Regions from separate parts of the Homo sapiens genome. Here region 1 is linked to region 2. Evidence: promoter capture Hi-C in human tissues and cell types (Jung and others, 2019). All regions are on one chromosome and are shown on one strand. Each heading gives the region's core, a stretch centred on a gene start or on the middle of the fragment in contact. The rest is flanking DNA. Distances are from core to core; before and after follow the strand shown.

Region 1 (5,737 bases), core at 2,065-4,564, 1.2 Mb after region 2:
TGAAAGGGCAAAGCTAGAAGGGCTTGAGTCAGAAACATCAATAGTAAACACTGGGACTCAGAGAATGACCCAGAAGCAGGGCAGCAGTTCTGCCCTGCCCACGCGGAACTCTTCAGTGATGATACCACACTCAAGGAAGGGCAGGGGAGCAAATGCCAGCATTCCAACCCAGGTTTCCCTCTCTCCCCTGTGGTTACACTGTAAGTTGACCTATCCACACTCACCTCTACTGTGTCTCTCCCTACCTGGTAGACAGCTGAACCTTTTCTAAGGGACAGGTTCCCTAGGGAAAGGGAGGCTAGTACTCTGGGTCATCAGTTTTACTTTTCCCAAGTCCAGCTCTCCCAGTGTCTACCCTCTGGATCTCTGCCCCACAGGGTCAGGGTTTCCCCTCCATTAGGTTCCCCAAGCTGGGGCCAGGCCTTTGCCTGACTTGTCAGTCCTATCTTGCCTTTTCTACTTCCTCCCTGACAGCAGAGCCCACAATGAAGAACAGGGAGAACATATGGGCAACCTATCCACGCCTCTCAGGGACAGTGGACAAGCTAGACACCCAAGAAAAAGCTCCTGCTTTTTGATTTCTGACTCTAGCCATTTGGGATCTCCCTGCTTCCTTTTTTACCTACTCAGCTAGGGACAGCATTCTGGCATTCTTCCATCCTCACAAAATCCACAGGGGATAACAGCTGCCCAAAAATAATCCCTTCATGTATATGTAATGTAACTATTATGCTGGTTGATCCTCCTGACAAAGGTGGGACAAGTATTACTGCTATTTTACAGATGAAAAGACTGAGCTACTGCCTAAGATCACAAACAAGGCAGAGAGAAAGCCAAGCTAGAATGCAGGTATGGTGGCCCAGCTCCCATTTCCATCCTCATTTGCACTAACCAAATCACTCCCCTCCCCCAACCCAACCCCAGATCTAGCCTGATTTAAAAGTTACAAGGTCAGTTCCTCCATCCCCTGGACAAGTCACTTCCCAGGACCCACTGTCCTAACAGGCTAATGCGACATCATCTCAGGTTCCCTCTGCACTACTGTGGCTTGGTTCCCTGAAGACACCTCCAAGCTCAAAATGGTGTTATCATGACCTTCCAGTGCCAGTATATGATTATTTTAGGATTATCATAAATAATATAGGAAATTAGAGGGAGAAAAAAGAAAGGAAGCAGTGGCAAAGGATAGGGAGTAAGCAGCTCCAGGAAGCTTTTAAGCCTGACAAATACTGTCACAGACAAACACTGTTACAAATACAGTCACTCACACAGAAGAAACTTCTGGGCTTAGGGGAAAAATACTGGCACAGTACAAAGGTTGGAAAAACCTTTAGTACCAGAACCACATAACCAAAAATTGACTATGGGTGTCACTAGCAGTTCTAAAATACAGGCAGAAGTAAAATAGGCAAGGGGTAGGGAAAAAAGGGAAATTAAAGAAAAGGGAACTCAAAGAGTAGAAAAAAAGGAAGACATGGCCAGCCGCGGTGGCTCACACCTGTAATCCCAGCACGTTGGGAGGCCGAGGCGGGTGGATCACCTGAGAGCAGGAATTCAAGACCAGCCCGACCAACATGGTGAAACCCCATCTCTACTAAAAACAAAAAATTAGCCGGGCGTGATGGTGCATGCCTGTAATTCCAGCTACTCGGGAGGCTGAGGCAGGAGAATCGCTTAAACCCGGAAGGCGGAGGTTGCGGTGGGCCAAGATGGCACCATTGCACTCGAGCCTGGGCAACAAGCGAAACTCTAACTCAAAAAAAAAAAAAAAAAAAGAGGGAGACATGAATGAAGAAGCTAGTGGGAAAGTAAGTTTAAAGGTAAGTAAGACAGTAGATTCTGAAGCAGTATCCCAAACAGTTCTTGTGCTATAGGGTGCCTGAGATGCTGGATCAAAGAATGGAAAAAGGAAAAGCAAGTCAAGAGGGTTTGGTTCCATTCCCAGGTTCCACCCCTAACTCTATTGTCATTGAAGTCATTTCCCCTTTTGGACTTGTTTCCTTATCAGTAAAATAGAAAGAGGATGATATATGCCTCTGGTCCAATCTCTCCCAAGGGTTTATGTTGTGATAAGGTAGAAATGAGCAGTCAATCCATCTAAGGGCAGGGAATCTACATACACCAAACTGATTGTAATCATTCATTTAACACTTTCTAAAACAAGAACCTTGGGGGTGGGGGGAGACTCATGTAGAACACATACTGACACAACTACTCACACAACGACACGCACACTCAAGAATCAGATAAACACACAGGTACTGCCACAGGTTGACTAACGCACAAACCAACCGACTAAACGCTCAGCCCCACACAAACACATCTAGAGACAGAGGCATGCCCTAGCAAGTGAGCCTCATTGTTCCTCAGGAAAGGGAGTTTACAAAGGAAACAAAAACTCTCATACACAGCCAGAGGGAGGGCAGAGCTCTGGCTCTGATGAGAATCCAGCCAACCAACAGATACACTCTCCCCCTGGGAAGAGTCACTCAATCAACAACACGTATTAAGGACTCCTGAGGTAGTTATTCCATAAAGGAACTTCGCTGGAACCTCTGCTGCGCTTAGAGAAATTTCAGGTTTCTATTGCATTTCCTCTTTAGACTGTGCACCCAGACATTTTCCCAGAGCAACCGCCGCAATTCAAAGATTCAGAAGAGCCAGAGACTCCTTCAGCAAAAGCTAGGGGAAGAGACTTCCACCCCAGACCACCTCCATTTGATTTTCTTCGAAGACCGTTAAAGGAGCCAAGGCTCCCGGCTGCGCAGCGGGGTTCGTGGATGCTGGGTGGCCGTTGGAGGGGCAGGCTGGCCCTTCCCAGGTGCGTGTGGAGCGCGCGCTGGGTAGATGAGTGTGGAAGGGTCCTTGGCCCGACGGCCCTCTCCAGTGAGGACGAGGAGTGTACCTCTGGTGTGTGCAGATGGGTCAGCTCCCTCCTGGTGGCCGTGAGGGGTGCGGTCACAACTCACCAGTGTGGGGGAGGGGAGCCAGCCACTCACCCAGCTGTGAGAGTGGTGAAAGAGGGACCAGCCAGGGGTGGAAAAGATAATTCGCAGAACGATATAGGAAGGTTTCTGAGCTCCTCCCCTCCCGCGGGCTAGGGGCGTGGGGAGAGCCTTCCTCCAACCTCTGACCCGACCAACCGATTCCTCCCGAAACTCTGGGAACTTACACAACAGGATCGCCAATATGAAGAGGCACAACAGTTTCCTCTCGACTTGCGCCTTTGTCCCCATCGCGATCAGGCTCCCGACACAACAGCCGCCGAAGGACTCCTGGGAACAGACACAGCTCCGCGACTACAGCGAGGGGACTGAGAGCCAGCCGCCAGGTGGAACCCCGCCCGGCCCCGCCCTCCGCGCCTGATTGGCCAGCTCCCCACCCCTGCACGTTCCGATTGGTGTAAGGAACCGCTGCTCTTCAGAACGAGTCACCTCGGCCAGGTGTTACCCCGCCGCCACTCCCCGCCTCGGCGCACTGGCGCCTTTCCCCACAGGAGCTGCCTCAGATTGGCCCAGGAGACTGTCGCGTCAGGAGACGAATTCCGCACCTTCAGCAGGTGACGGCCCCCTGATTGGTTGGTGTTCCCGAAGTAGCGACTTCCTGACTGGCTGGGTTCTCAGTTGGAGCTAGAGGGCTGAGAAGTACCTCTAAGGAGGAAGTAGGAAAGGCAGTCGTGGTGTGGGATTTACGGAGACCGGCTTGGCTTGGGGTTTTGTGTTTGTTTGAATGTAAGTTGCTTGGTGCAACTGCACCTGCAGTTTGGTCCTGCAGAAACTTTGGTCCTGCCTCTTGGCAAGTAAAAAACAAATATTAATATGGGAGGGTAGGGGAGAAGACCCGGAGAGAAATGGAATGTTACTTTGGCACCACCTCCAAACTGTTCCTCTGTCCACCCCACCGGCTTTGAGAGATGAGCTACGCTGGGAGGAAGAAAGGGGAAAAAAAAGGGAAAGGGAGCACTCAACTGGAAAATGGGAGCCTGGGCAGTATAGTCCCAGCTACTTGGGAGGCTGAGGTGGGAGGATGGCTTGAGCCCGGAGGCGGAGGTTGCAGTGAGCCTAGATCGCGCCACTGAACTACAGCCTGGGCGACAGAGCCAGACCCTGTCTCAAAAAACAAACAACAACAACAAAAATTTAAAAACCCACAACAACACAACTTGGGAAGAGCAGAATTACGTTATCTCAAGAAGAAAGTTAAACAGATGTACACAAAACACACCCAGATGATACAAACTGAGCTGAACATGCTCTAGAAACATCTCTGGGTGACTGGATATGTCCTTTACACATATTTGATCTGTGAACAGGTCCCTACATTTCAGAATTGTTTGTTTTCTCACTGTGACTAATAGTTGTGTGCTGACTAAGCCACCTTTTTTCTATAGACAATGTTGATACTCAAACTTTCTGTTAATATTTATATTGCTACATCATTTTTAATTGAAATTCATGCTCAACACCTTTGCTAGTTGTAGTTTCTATTTTACGATGATTTAATTTTAACTGTACTAAGCATATGCAGACTGTGGGGAAAAAACTTCCTTAGCATTACCTCATTGCAAGGGAAAAGACCACATTTTTATCCAAAAGAATGATATTGTTTGACATTTTGCCTTTTTCACCTTTGCTCTCATTCCTTTGTCCCCATCTCTTTGGCCAAAGTTCTGCTTCTGGTTCCATTCAATTTAAACCACCTACTGGGTGCTTAATAGTCTTGGCCGGGTGCGTGGCACACGCCTATAATCCCAGCACTTTGGGAGGCCGAGGTGGGTGGATCACCTGAGGTCAGTCTGACTAACGTGGTGAAACCCTGTCTCTACTAAATACAAAAAAAATTAGCCGGGCGTGGTGGCACATGCCTGTAATCTGAGCTACTTGGGAGGCTGAGACAGGAAAATCGCTTGTACCTGGGAGGAGGAGGTTGCAGTGAGCTGAAATCGCGCCATTGCACTCCAGCCTGCTGGGCATCAAGAGCGAAACTCCGTCTCAAAAAAAAAAGAAAAGAAAAGAAAGAAATTTAAAGTCTTGGAGAAAGGTATATACACTGACAGCTGGGCTCTGTGACGTGTGCCTGTAATCCCAGCTACTCAGGAGGCTGAGGCAGGAGGGGAGGATCACTTAAGGCCAGGAGTTTGAAACCAACCAGGGCAACATAGGGAAAAGACTCTGTGTCTAAGAAATTTTATTTATTTATTTATTTTTGAGACGGAGTCTTGCTCTGTCGCCCAGGCTGTAGTGCAGTGGCGCGATCTCTGCTCACTGCAAGCTCCGCCTCCCGGGTTCACGCCATTCTCCTGCCTCAGCCTCCGGAGTAGCTGGGACTACAGGCGCCCGCCACCATGCCTGGCTAATTTTTTTTTGTATTTTTAGTAAGACGGGATTTCACCGTGTTAGCCAGGATGGTCTCAATCTCCTGACCTTGTGATCCGCCCGCCTCGGCCTCCCAAAGTGCTGGGATTACAGGCGTGAGCCACCGCGCCCAGCCTATTTATTTATTTTTATTTTTATTTATTTATTTGTTTTTTGAGACGGAGTTTCACTCTTGTTGCCCAGGCTGGAGTGCAATGGCGCGATCTCGGCTCACCGCAACCTCCGCCTCCCGAGTTCAAGCGATTCTCCTGCCTCAGCCTCCCTAGTAGCTGGGATTACAGGCATGTGCCACCACGCCTGCTAATTTTGTATTTTTAGTAGAGACGGGGTTTCTCCATATTGGTCAGGCTGGTCTCAAACTC
Region 2 (5,004 bases), core at 36-2,535:
TTTTGCCTGACTCTGTGTTTCACCGTGAACTCCCATGTTCTGTCCACAGAGGAGATGAGAATGTGTGACCTCTTTTTCTGTTGAGGGAACATTGAATAATTTCCAGTTTTTATCTATTACAAATGATGCTGCTATGAGCACTCTTGTATATGTTTTTTCAGGCTTATATGTATACATTTCTGTTTGACATTTACCCAGGAGTGAAAATGCTGAGCCATCAGGGATCCCTGTGTTTAGTTTTGGTAGATTCTGCCAAGCCATTTTCTAGTGACTGTACCAATTTATATTCCCACTAGTGGTGTACAAGAGTTCTAGTTTCTTCACATCCTCACCAATACTCAGTAGAGGATTGCATGGGGAGGGTCACGGGCTCCCCCAGACCCAGCTCAGTCTCAGCTGGTATCACTCCCTTATTCTTATGGAAGGTGTAGTGGTATCTTATTATGGTTTAAATTTGCATTTCCACGGTGATTTATGATGTCTAGCTCCTTTTGCTATGTTGATTTGACACGTGGATATCTGCTTCTGTGAAGTACCTATCCAATTATTTTTGCCCATTTTTCTAGTATGTTGTCTGTCCTTTTCTTACTGACTTGCAGAAATTCTTATATTTCTTCTGTGGGCCCTTTGTCAGCTACATGTATTTAAACTATCTCATCACACCACAGCTTGCCTGTTCCTTCTCTTAATGGTGTCTTTTAAGGAATAGTTCTCAAAATCATACTGACAGTCTTAAAAGCCTCAGATGCCGAAGCTCCATCTGTGTTCTACTCCAGACTCATCGATGTCTGATTCCCTCCTGAACTGAGGATCCTGTGAAGCATCCTCAGGGCTCCACTTCTCCATCGCATTGCAGCATCCACACACATTTACCTCTGGAGACAGGAGCTCCTTGGAAGCTGGGAGGTCACTCGGTGGTCAAGGGGTAGATGATCTTAGTTTTACAGTGCTGCGCTGTCTCCCAGGCTGAATGACGCTGAAGCCAAGCAAATTCGGGCAGTCTCTGGACCTTTCTAATGGAGGTGTCCCATAACCATGTTCCATCCTAGTTCCCTGGCATAGGCTTGTTGAAGCTGCAGAAAATGTCAGGGATTTATTAGTGATTTACCGACTCCTTCATACTTAGTGTTCAGGAAAATTTATTCATGTAATACTTCTTCAACCAAAGAGGAAATATCAATTAGAGCTTTGTAAGTTTCTTTTCCACTTCCTATTTTGGCTATCAAGCTATAGCACCACCCAGCTCAGGCCACCCACCCACCTTCGGTCCTGAGGCCTGGTTGCTCTCTGCCGGCTTCGCCCTGACCTGTTTCTGACCTGTGTTCCCTCCGCTGTGCCAGAACAGGCCCCATGCTGCTCTGGACGGCTGTGCTGCTCTTTGGTAAGTCAACGAGCATGGGCATCCCCTCTTGGAGCACTAAGGACCGTAAGTCATCCCTGAGACACCAAGTTCCTCATCTTACCTTTCCCAATTCCAGTGGGTTTGTGGCTGGAGCTCAAGACAGGTGTGTGCACCTGGGCATGCTTGGGAGAGATGGGCACTGGGGTAGGAGAAACTCCTCAGTGTTTCCTACCCCGTAGTCCTGGGTCCTTGGCAGCGCAGCCCTTTGATATGTCAGAGATAAATTAGGGAGGCAGAAAATCACATTACAAAGTCCCCTAACTTCCCAATGACATTTCTACCTTGTGACATCAGGTTAAAATACTAATCAGAGCTGTCTCAAAAGGAAATGGAGGTTGCAGGAGGGAAGGAGGCTGCTGGGGGCAACAGGGAAGGAGTCAGGGAAATGAGGGGAAACAGTCCCAGGCATTTTGCTCAGCAATGGGAGGTGGAATTTTACAGGGTGACATATTTTTATGGAGCCTCAGCATTTTCTTAGAACCAGGTAACAATGGCCAGACCTCTCACCTGGTTGAAAGGCCTGTGCTCTGAGTAACCAAAGCCCTTTTCAAATTGACTGTCTCTCTTCCGCCTACATCTTCTCTCTGTTGGGAGCTGTTTCAGATCCATGGGGCTGGTTTGAAGAATCAACTCCATTGTCTGATCCATGTCTCTCTCTCTCTTCTCTCCATTTCTTCTCATGCAGGCTACTTGTAACTAAGAGAGCTGGTCTAAGGGTAGAGGATTGCACGCAGAGGGTCACTGGGCTCCCCCAGACCCAGCTCAGTCTCAGCCAGTGTCACCCCCCTTATACCTAAAAGAAATAATTTGGCATATATTTTGTTTCACTTTACAGTTTCCAAGTGGACCTACTTTTTGTTTAATTCTTGGTCCCAATAGCTTGCTTGCTATTTGTATTCCTTGAACTAGAAAAGCAAAACTGTTCCTAAATATAACCTCTTCCTGGACAGAGTTTGTGAGAATTTGACCCTGTGAGGAAAATGCCCCTTCCACTCAATGTTCCTTCTCCAGCATAGCATGCTACTCGTGTGTTCTATGAATGGCCATTTGGACAAATGAAAAGGTCTAATGCTCACACTGAGGCGGGGACAGGATAGCCTAATGCCTGGATATACTCCAGGCAGAAGACTCCCAGGGGCAAATGGCACTACCGGCACTACCTTGTAAAAGGAACAGCCCTTGGACTTGTCTAGATACAGTCTGAGAGTGTTCCAGCTTGGAACCCAGGACGAGGATGACAGACAGCAAATGAGGAGAGGAAGGGAATCAGTGACCGGCTGACTGGTGCACAGTGTAATGGAGAATCCAGCACCAGCAAATTTGGTCCCACTTGATGCTCAGGGACCCTGGAAAAACAGCCTAAAACACAGACACTGGGGCTGGGTGTGTAGCAACATTTATCTTACCATAAGTGTAGAGCTGCTATTTCCTCTCTCAAGAGCAGGGTGTGGTCATAATAAATTGGTGGCTATTACTATTATTGGCTGTCAGGGCTCCGGGAGGAAAGGAATCCTGACATTGAGCATGTGGGGACCTGGCTGAATGTGAAATATGTATTTAAAGTTTGGGAAATTAGGCTTAATTTTCTTCTGAGCTGAACATTAGCCAACTTCCCTCCTACCACTGGAGGCTGCTCCCCGCATTCTCACACAGCGTCCATAGGAGGTGTCATGGGGTCCCATACAGCCCTCCCAGCAATGTGACTGCTGCAGCTTGGCACTGCAGCCTGTTCCACAGTGCTAGAGCTCAGTGGTGAGAGAGTTCTTCATGTTGAGCCGAAATCTGCCTCCATGATCCCTCTAGTTTCCATTTCTGTCCTATAAAGTAACTCAGAATAAGTCTCCCCCTTCTTTTAAGCTTAGCCCACCAAGTATTTTGTGTCTTTCCTCTGTTGCATCTTTCCCAGATAAATATCTCCCGATCCCTCAGAAACTTTAAGAGGAAATTATCCTGCTCCTAGAGTTGGCAGGGGCTCCTGCCTTCATTTTTCGGAATTCTATTACGCAACTTGGTTTGACCATAGCTCTTGGCCACTTCATGATACTGTCACCTCATCTTCAGCCTATAGCTAATGGAGGTCCCTGGGCCCTCATTGCAGGAACTGCTGTAAGCAGGTGTCACCCCCTGTGTATGTTCCCAGTTGGCTGCTGTTTTGATTGCAGAAACCAATTTTGTAATCCCACCTCCAAGATCTTGCAGTACCATGGGGAGCAAGTCATTGAGATTTGGGGACAGGAGCTCATTTTAAGTGCATCTATGCTTCCTGAGTGCCTTCTGTCTTGTTTTTGGCTTCAGTAGTCTCAACCCTGTTTGTTTAGCACTTTGTAGCTGCACAATTGTTTTCCAGTGAGGTGGGGAAGGGAAGGAAGACATAACTACAGAGTAAGGTCTCTGTCACTCTGAGGTCAGGCCTTCTTTCTGCTTTCAGTTAATGTAGTAACCACTTTCCCAGGCAGTGGGTCAACATAACCTTCACAACTACACTGTAAGAAAAAAATGACTATTATCATTTCTATTATGTGATATGACAGAATGAGATATTGAAGGCTCTTGGAACTTAGACAACTTGTTCAAGGTCGTACAGAAAGAGGCAAATTCATGACTCAAGTCCAGGTCATCTGATTCCAAATCCTGCATGCTTTCCACTACACCGAGCTCATAGATGGGGGTTAGGGGTGGAGATGGAGGGATGATAAAGAAGAGACTCATTGTTCTGCACACTCTTGAGAGCATATGACTGAGCTGACCCTGAGCTGAATAGAGAATTGAGCTGAAAGATTCCACCTGTGTCCAAAGTAGTGTAGAAAGCAAAGATGATACCATGTGACAGAGCCAAACATCTGCTCTTAGAGGGTTTTCACCCACCCTTCCCAAGGCCATTCTTGCATTTTTTTTTTGGTGTTATGTAAAATACCTAGGACATGCCAGCAATGCAGGACACAAGTAAATGTATGAGGATTGGCTGGACTGACTGCACTCAGCCCTACATTCATTCATTGTTTCACACCTTGCCCCAAAGTCCAGAAGATTCTTCACTGCTTCATATCCAGCTATGACCTTCAATTTCAGGTCTTCCATTGTTTGGGCTATTCAAACCTATCTAACCATATCTGTCATCATTTTGTGAGTTGGCCCCTCTTCCCAGGTCACCTGTTCTCACACATTCACTCATTTAAAAACATGAATGTAGCACATCCAAGATGCAAGCATGATGTGGGATGCATCCAGTTTGTTTGTAGTTCTCTCATTCATCCATGCTGCCTGATAATGTCTCACATCCTTTAATGATTACTCTTTCAGGGGACTTATCCTCCTCAGTCTGGTCACTTCCATACCCTTTTTGCCAGAGCTCTGTGGAGAGATGGGACCACAAGAATCAGGTCCTGCCCTTGCTATATGGGTTCTCCTGTAGATGTTGGAGGTAGGACCCTCAGGCACATTCGTACAAGAGTCTAGTCCTATGTTTTCTACTTTTTGCTTCCCACCTCGTACAATGGGATGCAAAGGAAAACATTCATGCATTTATTCAGCAGATGCTTACTGAACACAGACTATGTTCCAGGCACAGGTCTTGGGCATAGAAAATATAGCAATGAGTAAAA

The links. Contacts are between HindIII fragments. The study calls those that stand out against the background at their distance.
Region 1: a contact is called between the fragment with the promoter of F11R here and the fragment with the promoter of FCRL6 in region 2, in 1 of the 25 tissues and cell types used here (adrenal gland).

Annotation. Positions count from the first base shown.
Region 1 is chr1:161,017,838-161,023,574 of GRCh38, forward strand. F11R (F11 receptor) reads right to left here and starts at 3,315. Exons shown (of 10, transcript NM_016946.6): 1 at 3,173-3,315. The coding sequence starts at 3,236. RefSeq lists enhancers at 2,556-2,685, 2,696-2,745, 3,046-3,295, 3,448-4,045. The HindIII fragment of the contact is 9,306 bases long and covers 1-5,737 here.
Region 2 is chr1:159,801,075-159,806,078 of GRCh38, forward strand. FCRL6 (Fc receptor like 6) reads left to right here and starts at 1,286. Exons shown (of 10, transcript NM_001004310.3): 1 at 1,286-1,381. The coding sequence starts at 1,351. It overlaps LOC105371464 (a long non-coding RNA gene), which reads right to left. Exons shown (of 3, transcript XR_922195.2): 1 at 1,464-5,004; 2 at 874-1,073. The HindIII fragment of the contact is 7,287 bases long and covers 1-5,004 here.